2 separate regions of the Homo sapiens genome follow, and region 2 is linked to region 1. The links are contacts of gene promoters, found by promoter capture Hi-C in blood cells and fetal thymus (Javierre and others, 2016). All regions are on one chromosome and are shown on one strand. The core of a region is centred on a gene start or on the middle of the fragment in contact, and the rest is flanking DNA. Distances in the headings are between cores, read along the strand shown.

Region 1 (5,421 bases), core at 2,872-5,371:
GCAGATGAGGCAGAGAGAGAGAGGAGACAAAGAGAAAGACAGCTTATGCCATTATTTCTGCATATCAGAGACTTTTAGTACTTTCACTAATTTACTACTGCTATCTAGAAGGCAGAGCCAGGCGTACAGGATGGAACGTGAAGGCGGACTAGGAGCGTGACCACTGAAGCACAGCATCATAGGGAGACGGTTAGGCCTCCGGATAACTGCGAGTGGACCTGACTGGTGTCTGGCCCTCCACAAGAGGTGGAGGAGCAAAGTCTTCTCTAAACTCTCCCGGGGAAAGGGAGACTCCCTTTCCCGGTCTGCCAAGTAGCGGGTGTTTTCCCTTGACACTTACGCTACCGCTAGACCTCGGTCTGCCTGGCAACGGGCGTCTTCCCAGGCGCTAGTGTCACCGCTAGACCAAGGAGCCCTTCTGGTGGCCCTGTCTGGGCATAACAGAAGGCTCGCACTCTTGTCTTCTGGTCACTTCTCACTATGTCTCCCCAGCTCCTATCTCTGTATGGCCTGGCTTTTCCTAGGTTGTGATTATAGAGCGAGGATTATTATAATACTGGAATAAAGAGTAATTGCTACCAACTAATGATTAATGATATTCACATATAATCATATCTAAGATCTATATCTGGTATAACTTTTCTTGTTTTATATTTTATTATACTGGAACAGCTCGTGTCCTTGGTCTCTTGCCTCGGCGCCTGGGTGACCTGCCGCCCACAAACCAGGACCAGGGAGACCTGAAAACCTTCCCACAGGTGAGCTGTGCCAGAGTCCCATGAGATGCGGTTCTTGGGGTAGCTTTAGGGGCAGGGGTTAGAGGAATGCAACAAGGATCCCGGCCCCTGGAGGGACAGGAAACAGGTGTGGCCAGAACCTTATAGGATTCTGCATCCAAGATCCGGTCTCTGAAGAGTTTAAGAATTATTCATCATTCATTCCTTCCCTCCTTCGTCAGAGAACTACTGAGTGTGTGTCTCTCACTGGGCCCTGCGCTGGTGCAGGGTGTGAGTGGGGAGTGTTTTATCCTCCTGTGGGAGTGTCACTGACACATCAGGAAACACAGGATTTCAGGTCGAGTGAGGGCAGTGGTGCGCATCTGAGAGGGAGGCCCGGACATTCCTGGCACTGACTCTGTTGACACAAGGGATTTAGTTCTAGGTTAGGCTAATGTGTTAGGCTATTTTTTGTTACTATAAGGAAATGTCTGAGGCTGGGTAATTTATAAAGAAAAGAGATTTAATTGATGCAGGGATCTGCAGGCTATACAGGCATGGCACCAGCGTCTGCTCGGCTTCTGGTGAGACCCAGCAAGCTTACAATCATGGTGGAAGGAGAAGGGGGAGCAGGTGGTGTCATGTGGCAAAAGCAGGAGCAAGAGAGAGTGTGGAGGCGCCACACACTTTTAAAGAACCAGATCTCCTGTGCACTCAAAGTGAGAACTGACTTGTCACCAAGGGGATGGTGCTGAGCCACTCATGAGAAACAGCCCCCCATGATCCAATCGCCTCCCACCAGGCCTCACCTCCAATGTTGGGGATCACATTTCAACATGAGATTTGGAGAGGATAAACATCCAAACTATATCAGGAAAAATTGATTAATTTTCCATTTGCCCCTTACTCTCCAGACCAAAATCTCCCCCTCTGAGATGTGGATGCCCAAGAAAAAGGAAAGAGAACTTAGGACTGGTCTCAGGCCTGCAGATGTCTAATAATAACGCCAGCCGTCCCCTGGTGGAGAAGAGGCAGCTGTGGCTGCAGAGAGACCTCGTGTGACTCTAATCTGACACCTTTGACTTGTGTGACCCTAGTCGGTGACTGTCTCCCTGTTCCTCAATTTTTTTTTTCAATAAGTAGGATAAGTGCTATTTGGCTGTGACGTTGTTTGTGAATTAATCTCAAAATATTTACAATTACTTGACCTCAGCTGTGTATAGAGGAGCTGCCCAAAGGAACAGCATCTATGCTTATTTGCCTCCAAAAGAGAGGTCCCTGAGTCTGATCCCTTGTGGAAAAGGAGCTGCTGGGAGCATCTTCTCTCTTCTTTTTCCTCCCCCTGGGGATACTGAACTTCCCATGGAGTCATCTAAGTTCCCCTGGGCAGTGGGCTCATGCCCTAGTAATCTTGTCCATCTGTTCACTCCATGCTGAGTCTCAGGTAAAGGATGAGGCCCTGTCCTTGCCCAGGAGAGGTTCTTGGGGCTGGACCCTGGCTGGTGACCAACTCCAGGAGCCACGACCCTCAGACAGCTGGTAAATTCTTGCTCCCAGTCAGCCCTGCCCAGGAGGCCTCACTCAGCCCTGGCACAGGATCCCTAGGGTCCCCAGGGTCACCTGGAGTCAGGAATCTGGGACAGGGATTTGCACAGGGGCTCAGTTCTGGGAAGAGTTGAGCTTCTCTCTGAGAATCCTAGGGGGACCCCTCAGGCCAGGCCCTGATCCAGTTCTCCAGGGTCTTTCTTAGGGTCAGGTCCATGGGGAGACCATGGGGTTCTTTTCTGACACTGACCTTGCCCTGCTGAGTCCCCCCATCAGACTGTCCTTCCTCTGCAGCGAGTGTCTGCAGGGTCTGGATGCAGGAAAGGAATTCTGATCTGTGGAAGTTTGTCTCCCCCGTGTGTGTCCTGCACTAAATGTCCAAACCCTGATACAGAATGTAATGCAGAGAGGGCCACAGGCACAGCCCAGGCCTGACAATCCCATATGTGGGAAGTAGAACTGACCCCCAACACCCAGAGGTCATGTGGAAATACTCACGGTATACATGGAACTGTCCAGTTGCTTCTTCATTCACAAGATCTGACTTTATGACTTGTAGGGTGTAGAATCCTATGTCATTCTGGGTGACATTCTGGATCAGCAGGGATGCATTGGTGTATATTGTCTCTCGACCGCTGTATGCGGCCCCTGGGGTAGCTTGTTGAGTTCCTATTACATATCCTACAATTAGACTGTTGCCATCCACTCTTTCCCCTTTGTACCAGCTGTAGCCAAAAAGATGCTGGGGCAGATTGTGGACAAGTAGAAGCACCTCCTTCCCCTCTGCGACACTGAGCGGCATGGATTCAATAGTGAGCTTGGCAGTGGTGGGCGGGTTCCAGAAGTTTAGAAGTGAGGCTAGGAGGGAGAAAGCATCAGTCAATATTGGGACCCATGTATTGGGATGGAAAGATGGGGCCCTGGGTCCTGAGAGAGTCTCTTCACCCTTCAGCCTTGGAGAGTGTATGTGTGTCCCACTTGGTCAAGGTCAGTAACGTGACCTTTCTTTCTTCAGCACCTCTAACCTTGGCATTTTCCTGTGTGGAATCCCCTTCCCCAGGGGTCTGCATGGCTCCCTCCCCACTGCCCTCAGATCCTGCTCACATCAGGGCATCCTTGGGAGATCCCTCCCCTGACACCTCCTCTAGAGACCCTGGGTCTTCCCTTTCTGACCTTTTTCTGCTCTGTTCCCTCCAGGGCTCTTGTCAACACCTGAACTCACATTCTAGATCTCTTTGGGTGTCTATCTTCATCTCTGCAAGAGTGTAAGCTCTTTGAACACAGAGACTTGTCTGATATTTGTTGTACGCCAGTGCCTAAAATTTGATTGCAAATACTGGTGGATGAGTTAAGGAGTGGTGGTTATTTTGCAACTTGTGGTTGGTGGTCAAAGACAGGTTTTAGTGCCCTGGTTATATTTTTATTTAAAGTATCACCCTGATGTAATTCTTATTCTTATCATTTTCTAATTGTAGTGGCCAGTAATGATTAACTTGGAAAACATGATCAATGGATTTTCCTCCCTCTTATCAATCCCAGTTCAATGTGATTGTCTTGTTGTGACCCGTGTCCCTCTCTGATGTTCTCTCCCCTGAGGCTTCAGCAGAAGCCTTCTGTCCCCTATCAGAGCCCCATCCTCCCCAGGAGACCCCAGCCATTCTCTGTGATCCCTCCTCTTGCCCACTCCCAGGAATCCTCCACTCACCTGTGAGCAGAAGCCCCTGCCAGGGGATGCATTCTCTGTGGGGAGAGGCTGAGGGGGGCCCCATGGTCTCTGCTGCCTGCTCTTTCCTCCTCTGTGGAAAAGAGCCTGGGCTCCAGGAATGCTGTAGTCAGGGCTACTGTGACTTAGGCTCTGCTGTCCTTCCTCTTTCCATGCTGAGCCTCCTCCCAGGGCAGGAGCACTTTCCAGGGTCATGGGTGAAGCTCTGCCCAGGTCACCTCTCTGTCCCCTCCCCTCTCAGTTTTGCCTCATTTTCTCTTCTTCCTTTCTCCCTTCTGTCTACATTTGAGTTCCCCAGACCAGGCTCTGAGAAGCAAGGCTTACTTGGATCCCTGTTTCATAACAGGATGACCCTCCCTCCCCAGCGTGGACCTCTGCTCTGCCTTGGCCTTGGGTCTGTCAGCACCATGCAGAGTCCCTGGGGTCCCTGAACCTGGTGTTATTTTCTCTGTGACGGAGAAACTCCTTTGTGTGTGCAGGGTCTTCTTACTGTTCTCACATGTCTGGGAAGGTTGGATTTACTCCCAGCAAGGAGGTCACAGAGATGTCTGGGGTCCTACAAATGGATATATCTAGGGCTAAAGCCCGGATCTAAGATTCTGAGCTGTTCTTTCTGCAGCATTATGTGACTCTAATTTCCTGGGAGTAACTGAGAATGAGGCTTCACAGTGCTGTAGCTTTATGTCATCCAGACACCAGACATTTCTAGGCTGACTTTATGATTTTCTCTCTAGCTTGTACCACCTTTATTATTATATATTTCATCCTTTTTTCTAAATAAATTTAGTTTACAAAACATCCTGTCCTAGCAGGGATCGGTGGCTCAGATCTGTGATCCCAGCTACTCGAGAGGCTATGGTGGGAGGATGGCTTGAGGCCAGGAGTTGGAGACAAAACATCCTTGTCTTATGCAATATTGTCCATGAAATTACAGATTTGATGTGTGCTTAAATGTTTTCTCAATGTATATTAAAATAAACGCATAAGTATTAAAGTTTTTAAAAAGCTTACTTACGTTTCGCCTAAAATCAGTTTTTGGAAATGCTGACACAGTGGCATAAACATGAACTTTATGTCCAGATGTACCTGGGGACAGCTAATGGTTCTGTCACTTAACTATGTTGACTTGGACAAGTCACGTGGCTTCTATGATCCTTGATTCCCTGATTTGTAAAAGGAGGATGGTAAAATCCTCCTTGCAGAGTTGTTGGGAATAAGTGAGCTGCTGTGGGAGCCCCGTGCCCAGGCGGGTGTTGAGTACATGGTGGTTGTCATCGTGGTTATTGCTGTGGAATTCTGGTTTTCAAAGAGTGTCTACGCCGGAATATTGGGCTTGTGGCTTTCTGCTGATGTGGATGTGTGAAAAAGCTACTTTTGCTTGTTAGAACTTGTGGTGCATCTGTCATTATTTTCATTTCCCAGTTCCACTACCTATTT
Region 2 (4,944 bases), core at 923-3,422, 110 kb after region 1:
AGACAGGGACACAGATGACCTGGAGGCAGCACCCCCAGTGCTGTGATGGAGGAACACAGGGCTCTCTGGGGACCACCTCCTAGGCTGGTGTCCTCTCTCTGAAGCCCCCAGAGACACCTCTCTGGGTCCTACCTTTGAAACCTTGGGGACAGGTGGCTCCTTCTGAGGCAGCCTATCCCCCTGGTGGACAGTTCTCCAAATCTTGATTTGCTGTTCTCTGGACAACTCCTGTCCTCTCCTTGAGCTCATCCTGCACTGCATGGAGTTGGGCAGCCTGGGACTCTCCATGAGCAGGACCTGGGGTGACCTGATCCTGTAGCTTGGAGGTCACACCATGTGGACCCTCGTCAACATCCCTGGAACAGCCCCTGACTTTGACCACAGATCTCTTGCCTTCCAGGGGTGCACATCGCACACAGAGAACACTCAGGAAATTGCAGTTGATTCTCGAATAAGGCAGGGGTTAAGGGTGCTGAGGACCCCGTAGAAAATCTTTGTATAACTTTTGGCTTCCCAACAATTGAACCACTAAAACCCTACTCTTGACCAGAAGCCTTATTGTTAACATAAACGGTAAATCAATGTATTTTGCATGTTTATTTATATTATATACTGTACTCTTACAATAACATAAGCTGGGGAAAATAAAATGTTACTATGAAAATCATAAGGAAGATAAAACATATTTACTATTCATTAAGTGACAGTGGATCATCATAAAGGCTTTTATCCTTTTTTTGTCTCCAGGTTAAGTAGGCTGAGGAGGAGGAAAGGAGAGGGTGGTCTTGCTGTCTCAGAGATGGCAGAGGTAGAAGAGGTGGAGGGGAGGCAAGAGGAGGGGACACACTCAGTGCAACTTTTAATTTAAAACATCTGCATGTGGCTGGGCATGGCAGCTCATGCTTGTAATCTCAGCACTTTGGGAGGCTGAGGTGGGTGGATCATTTGAAGTCAGGAGTCTGAGACCAGCCTGGCCAACATGGTGAAACCCCGCCTCTACTAAAAATACAAAAATTAACCAGGCGTGGTGGCGGGTGCCTATAGTCCCAGCTACTTGGGAGGCTGAGGCAGGAGAATCACTTGAACCCGGGAGGTGGAGGTTGTAGTGAGCTGAGATCGTGCCACTGCACTCTAGCATGGGCAACAGAGTGAGACTCTGTCTCAGGAAAAAAAAAAAAGCAAAAAACAAACAAACAAAAAACAAAAAACAAAAATCAAACAAACAAACAAACAAACAAAAAAACATCGACATGTAAGTGGACCTGTGTGTTCAAATCTGTGTGTTCGAAGGTCAGCTGTAATTCCCCTGGACATGAACTTGGCCTTGCTAAGGTGGTGAAGGTGGAGCCTGGTTTCCATTCCTTGCTCCAACAGACCCTTCTTGTCTTTCACGCGTTCCTGCTGTGTCCCACCTCTTCCTTCCTGGGGCCTTTGAAGACCCCGCTCTGCCAGGGGTTTCTGTGCAGCTCCCCATTCCCTCCTGGCACCACCCATGGGGAAGGCGGGGTGACCACAGGACTGTCAGCCAGACAGAGGCTTCCAGGTCAGGTAGAACATGGAAAGGACCTGAGCCACAGCACATCCAAAAGACAGGGAGAGGGAGGGTTTCCTTGAAGCCTTCCCCAAGGACAGCAGAGCTCAGAGCCACACACCTCCCTCCACCACAGCTCTCTTCCCAGGACACACCAGACACCTCCCTCCACACCCAGGAGCTGTAGCTCCTCCTGAGACCCCTGGGCCTTGGTTTCTGTGCCTGGGTCACTGGAGACAGAGGGCTGGTCCCTCCCCAGTCATCCCCCAGTGAGCCCCTTTCTATCCCCCAGAGCCACCTCTGTCACCTTCCTGCTGGGCATCATCCCAGCAGAAACCCAAGGCCCAGCTGGGTTTCTCTGTCACAAGGGAAATAATCCCCCTGGTGTGACAGACCCAAGGCCAGAACACAGCATAGGTCAGCACTGGGAAAGGTTGGTTGTCCTCCCAGGGGACAGGGGTCCATCAGCCTTGCTACTCAAAGCTTTGTATCGGGAACTGAATATAGACAAAAGGGAAAGAGGAAGAGGGACAAAAGAGGCAGGAATGAGAGGGGAGGGGACAGAGGACTCCTGAGCAGAGACCCCACCCCTGGACCATGTGATCTTGGAAAGTGCTCCTGCCCTGGGAGGAGGCTCAGCACAGAGGTAGGAAGGACAGCAGAGCTGACAGTCACAGCAGCCCTGACAAGAGAGTTCCTGGAGCCCAAGCTCTTCTCCACAGAGGACAAGCAGGCAGCAGAGACCATGGGGTCCCCTTCAGCCTGTCCATACAGAGTGTGCATTCCCTGGCAGGGGCTCCTGCTCACAGGTGAGGGGAGGACTTCCTGGGAGTGGGTGGGAGGAGGGCCAGAGAGACTGGCTGGGGTCTCCTTGGGAGGACGGGGCTCTGAGAGGGGACAAAGGGCTTCTGTTGAAGTCCTTTGGGAGAGGACACCAGACAGGGACAGGAAACCAGAACAGGAAAATCACATTGGACTGGAATTGGAAAGGGTCAAGAAAATCTCACATGTTCTCTTTTCCTGGTTAATCATCACTAGCTGCTACATTTTGAAATATGATAATAATAACTATATCATGTGACGCTTCAAATAAAAACATAACCAGGGCATAAAACATTGTCCCTAGCCACCAACCTCAGGCATTGGAAAATAAACCCCAGGATGTGGAGGGAGGGCCCTGGGAACTCTCATGAACTCATCTACTGGAGCCTGCAGCCTGTTCCAGGCACTGGGGTGCAATCCAGTTCACACAAGTCCCTGCCCTCACAGAGCTCACGCTCTCATGCGGCAGAAGACAGACAGGCAAAGAGATCTAGAATGTGAAGCCAGGTGTTGACAAGAGCTCTAAAGGGAACAGAGCAGGGAAATGTCAGAAACGGAACACCCAGGGCTTCTAGAGAAGGTGTCAGGGAAGGGGTCTCCCAAGGATGCCCTGATGTAAGCAGGTCCAGCAGTATGGAGGGAGCCCTGCAGATCCCTGGGGAAGAGGATTCCGAACAGGGAAATGTAAGGTCAGAGGTGCTGATAGGGGACATGCTGCTGACATTGATCCAGTAGGACACACACACACACACACACACTTACTTCAAGATGGGGGTGGGTGAAGAGACCTGCTCAGGATCCAGGGCCCCATCTTTCCACCCCAATACATAGGTCCCAATATTGACTGATGTTCTCTCCCCCTCCTAGCCTCGCTTTTAACCTTCTGGAACCTGCCAAACAGTGCCCAGACCAATATTGATGTCGTGCCGTTCAATGTCGCAGAAGGGAAGGAGGTCCTTCTAGTAGTCCATAATGAGTCCCAGAATCTTTATGGCTACAACTGGTACAAAGGGGAAAGGGTGCATGCCAACTATCGAATTATAGGATATGTAAAAAATATAAGTCAAGAAAATGCCCCAGGGCCCGCACACAACGGTCGAGAGACAATATACCCCAATGGAACCCTGCTGATCCAGAACGTCACCCACAATGACGCAGGAATCTATACCCTACACGTTATAAAAGAAAATCTTGTGAATGAAGAAGTAACCAGACAATTCTACGTATTCTGTGAGTGATACCTCCATGACTTCTGGGTGCTGGGGGCCAGTTCTACTTCATACACACGGGGTTGTCAGGCCTGGGTTGTGCCTGTGTCCCCATCTACATTTTATCCAGTGTTGGAGTTTGGGCATTTAGTGAAGGACACACATGGGGGAGACAAACTTCTACAGACCAGAATCCCTTTCCTGCATCCAGACCCTGCAGATACTTGCTGCAGAGGAAGGACAGTCTGATGGGGGGCACTCAGCAGGGGGAGATCAGTCTCAGCCAAGATTCTGTGCCCTCCCCCTGAAAAAGACCCTGGAGAACTGGGTCAGAGCCTGGCCTGAGGAGTCCCCTGGAATCCTCACAGAGAAGCTCAGCCCTGGAAGCACAAGTCCCAGATCCCTGTCCCAGGGCTCTTGACTCCAGGTGACCCTAAGGAACCTGTGTCAGGGCTGGGTTGTGGCCTCCTGGGCTGAACTGACTGAGAGCAAGGATTTGAGCTGTTTGAGGATCATGGCTCATGGAGCTGGTCACCAGCCTGGTCACCCCCAGGGCCTCATCTGGGCAAGGACAGAGCCTCATCCTTCACCTGAGACTCAGCCTGGAGAGGACAGATGAACAGGATTACTAGGACCTCAGTCCCCCTGGATGAGGAACTTAAGAGAGGTCCTAGGGGAGTCAGTGTCCTCAGGGGGAGAAAAAGAAGAAGAAAGTTTCTGCTGTAAGTTCTTTGTACACCAGGAATCAGGTCCAAATAACCCACTCCTGGAGGCAAACAATCAGAGATCCTGCTTGTTTGGGCAGCTCTTCTACACAGGGCTCTCATCCAGGTAATTGTGATTATTTTAAGGTAAATTCACAGACAGCAAGGCAAGCCAGAGACCATTTACGCTTTATCTCATTTTGTTAAAGGAAACTGAGGCAGAAGGAAATACAGCCACTGAGGCAGGGTCTCACGGACCGGACAGTCACATCAGAGTCCCCAGGTCTTTGTAGCCACAGAGCTTGCTTCCTAGGCATCCAAGCCAGAAGTGGGAGATTCTGGTCTAGGGAGTGAGGAACAAATAGAGAATTAGTTTTTACCTAGAACTGAATCTCTTGCCTCAACTATCAGAGTCAGTGCTGGGAATGTCCAGGCCTCTCCCTTAGATTCACACTCCTACCCTCACTGGACCTGAAATCCTGTGTTTCCTGATGTGTTGGTGTCACTCCCACAGGAGGATAAAGGAGAAGACTTTGCTTTCTCTCCCCACTCACACCCTGCACATGCCAGGGCCCAAAGTGAGAAACACACTCGCTCAGTAGTTCTCTCATGAAGGAGGGAGGGAATGAATGAAGGAATGAATGATCCATAATCTCTTCAGAGACTGGAACCTGATGCA

The links. Contacts are between HindIII fragments. The CHiCAGO score rates a contact against its expected background, and 5 or more counts as called.
Region 2: a contact is called between the fragment with the promoter of CEACAM7 here and the fragment with the promoter of CEACAM3 in region 1, in 4 of 17 cell types (megakaryocytes, endothelial precursors, activated CD4 T cells and 1 more). The highest score is 6.3, in megakaryocytes.

Annotation. Positions count from the first base shown.
Region 1 is chr19:41,795,287-41,800,707 of GRCh38, reverse strand. CEACAM3 (CEA cell adhesion molecule 3) reads right to left here and starts at 4,121. Exons shown (of 7, transcript NM_001815.5): 1 at 3,967-4,121; 2 at 2,760-3,119. The coding sequence starts at 4,030. The HindIII fragment of the contact is 3,675 bases long and covers 1,318-4,992 here.
Region 2 is chr19:41,685,498-41,690,441 of GRCh38, reverse strand. It overlaps CEACAM7 (CEA cell adhesion molecule 7), which reads left to right and starts at 2,172. Exons shown (of 5, transcript NM_001291485.2): 1 at 2,172-2,340; 2 at 3,221-3,583. The coding sequence starts at 2,277. The HindIII fragment of the contact is 5,666 bases long and covers 2,017-4,944 here.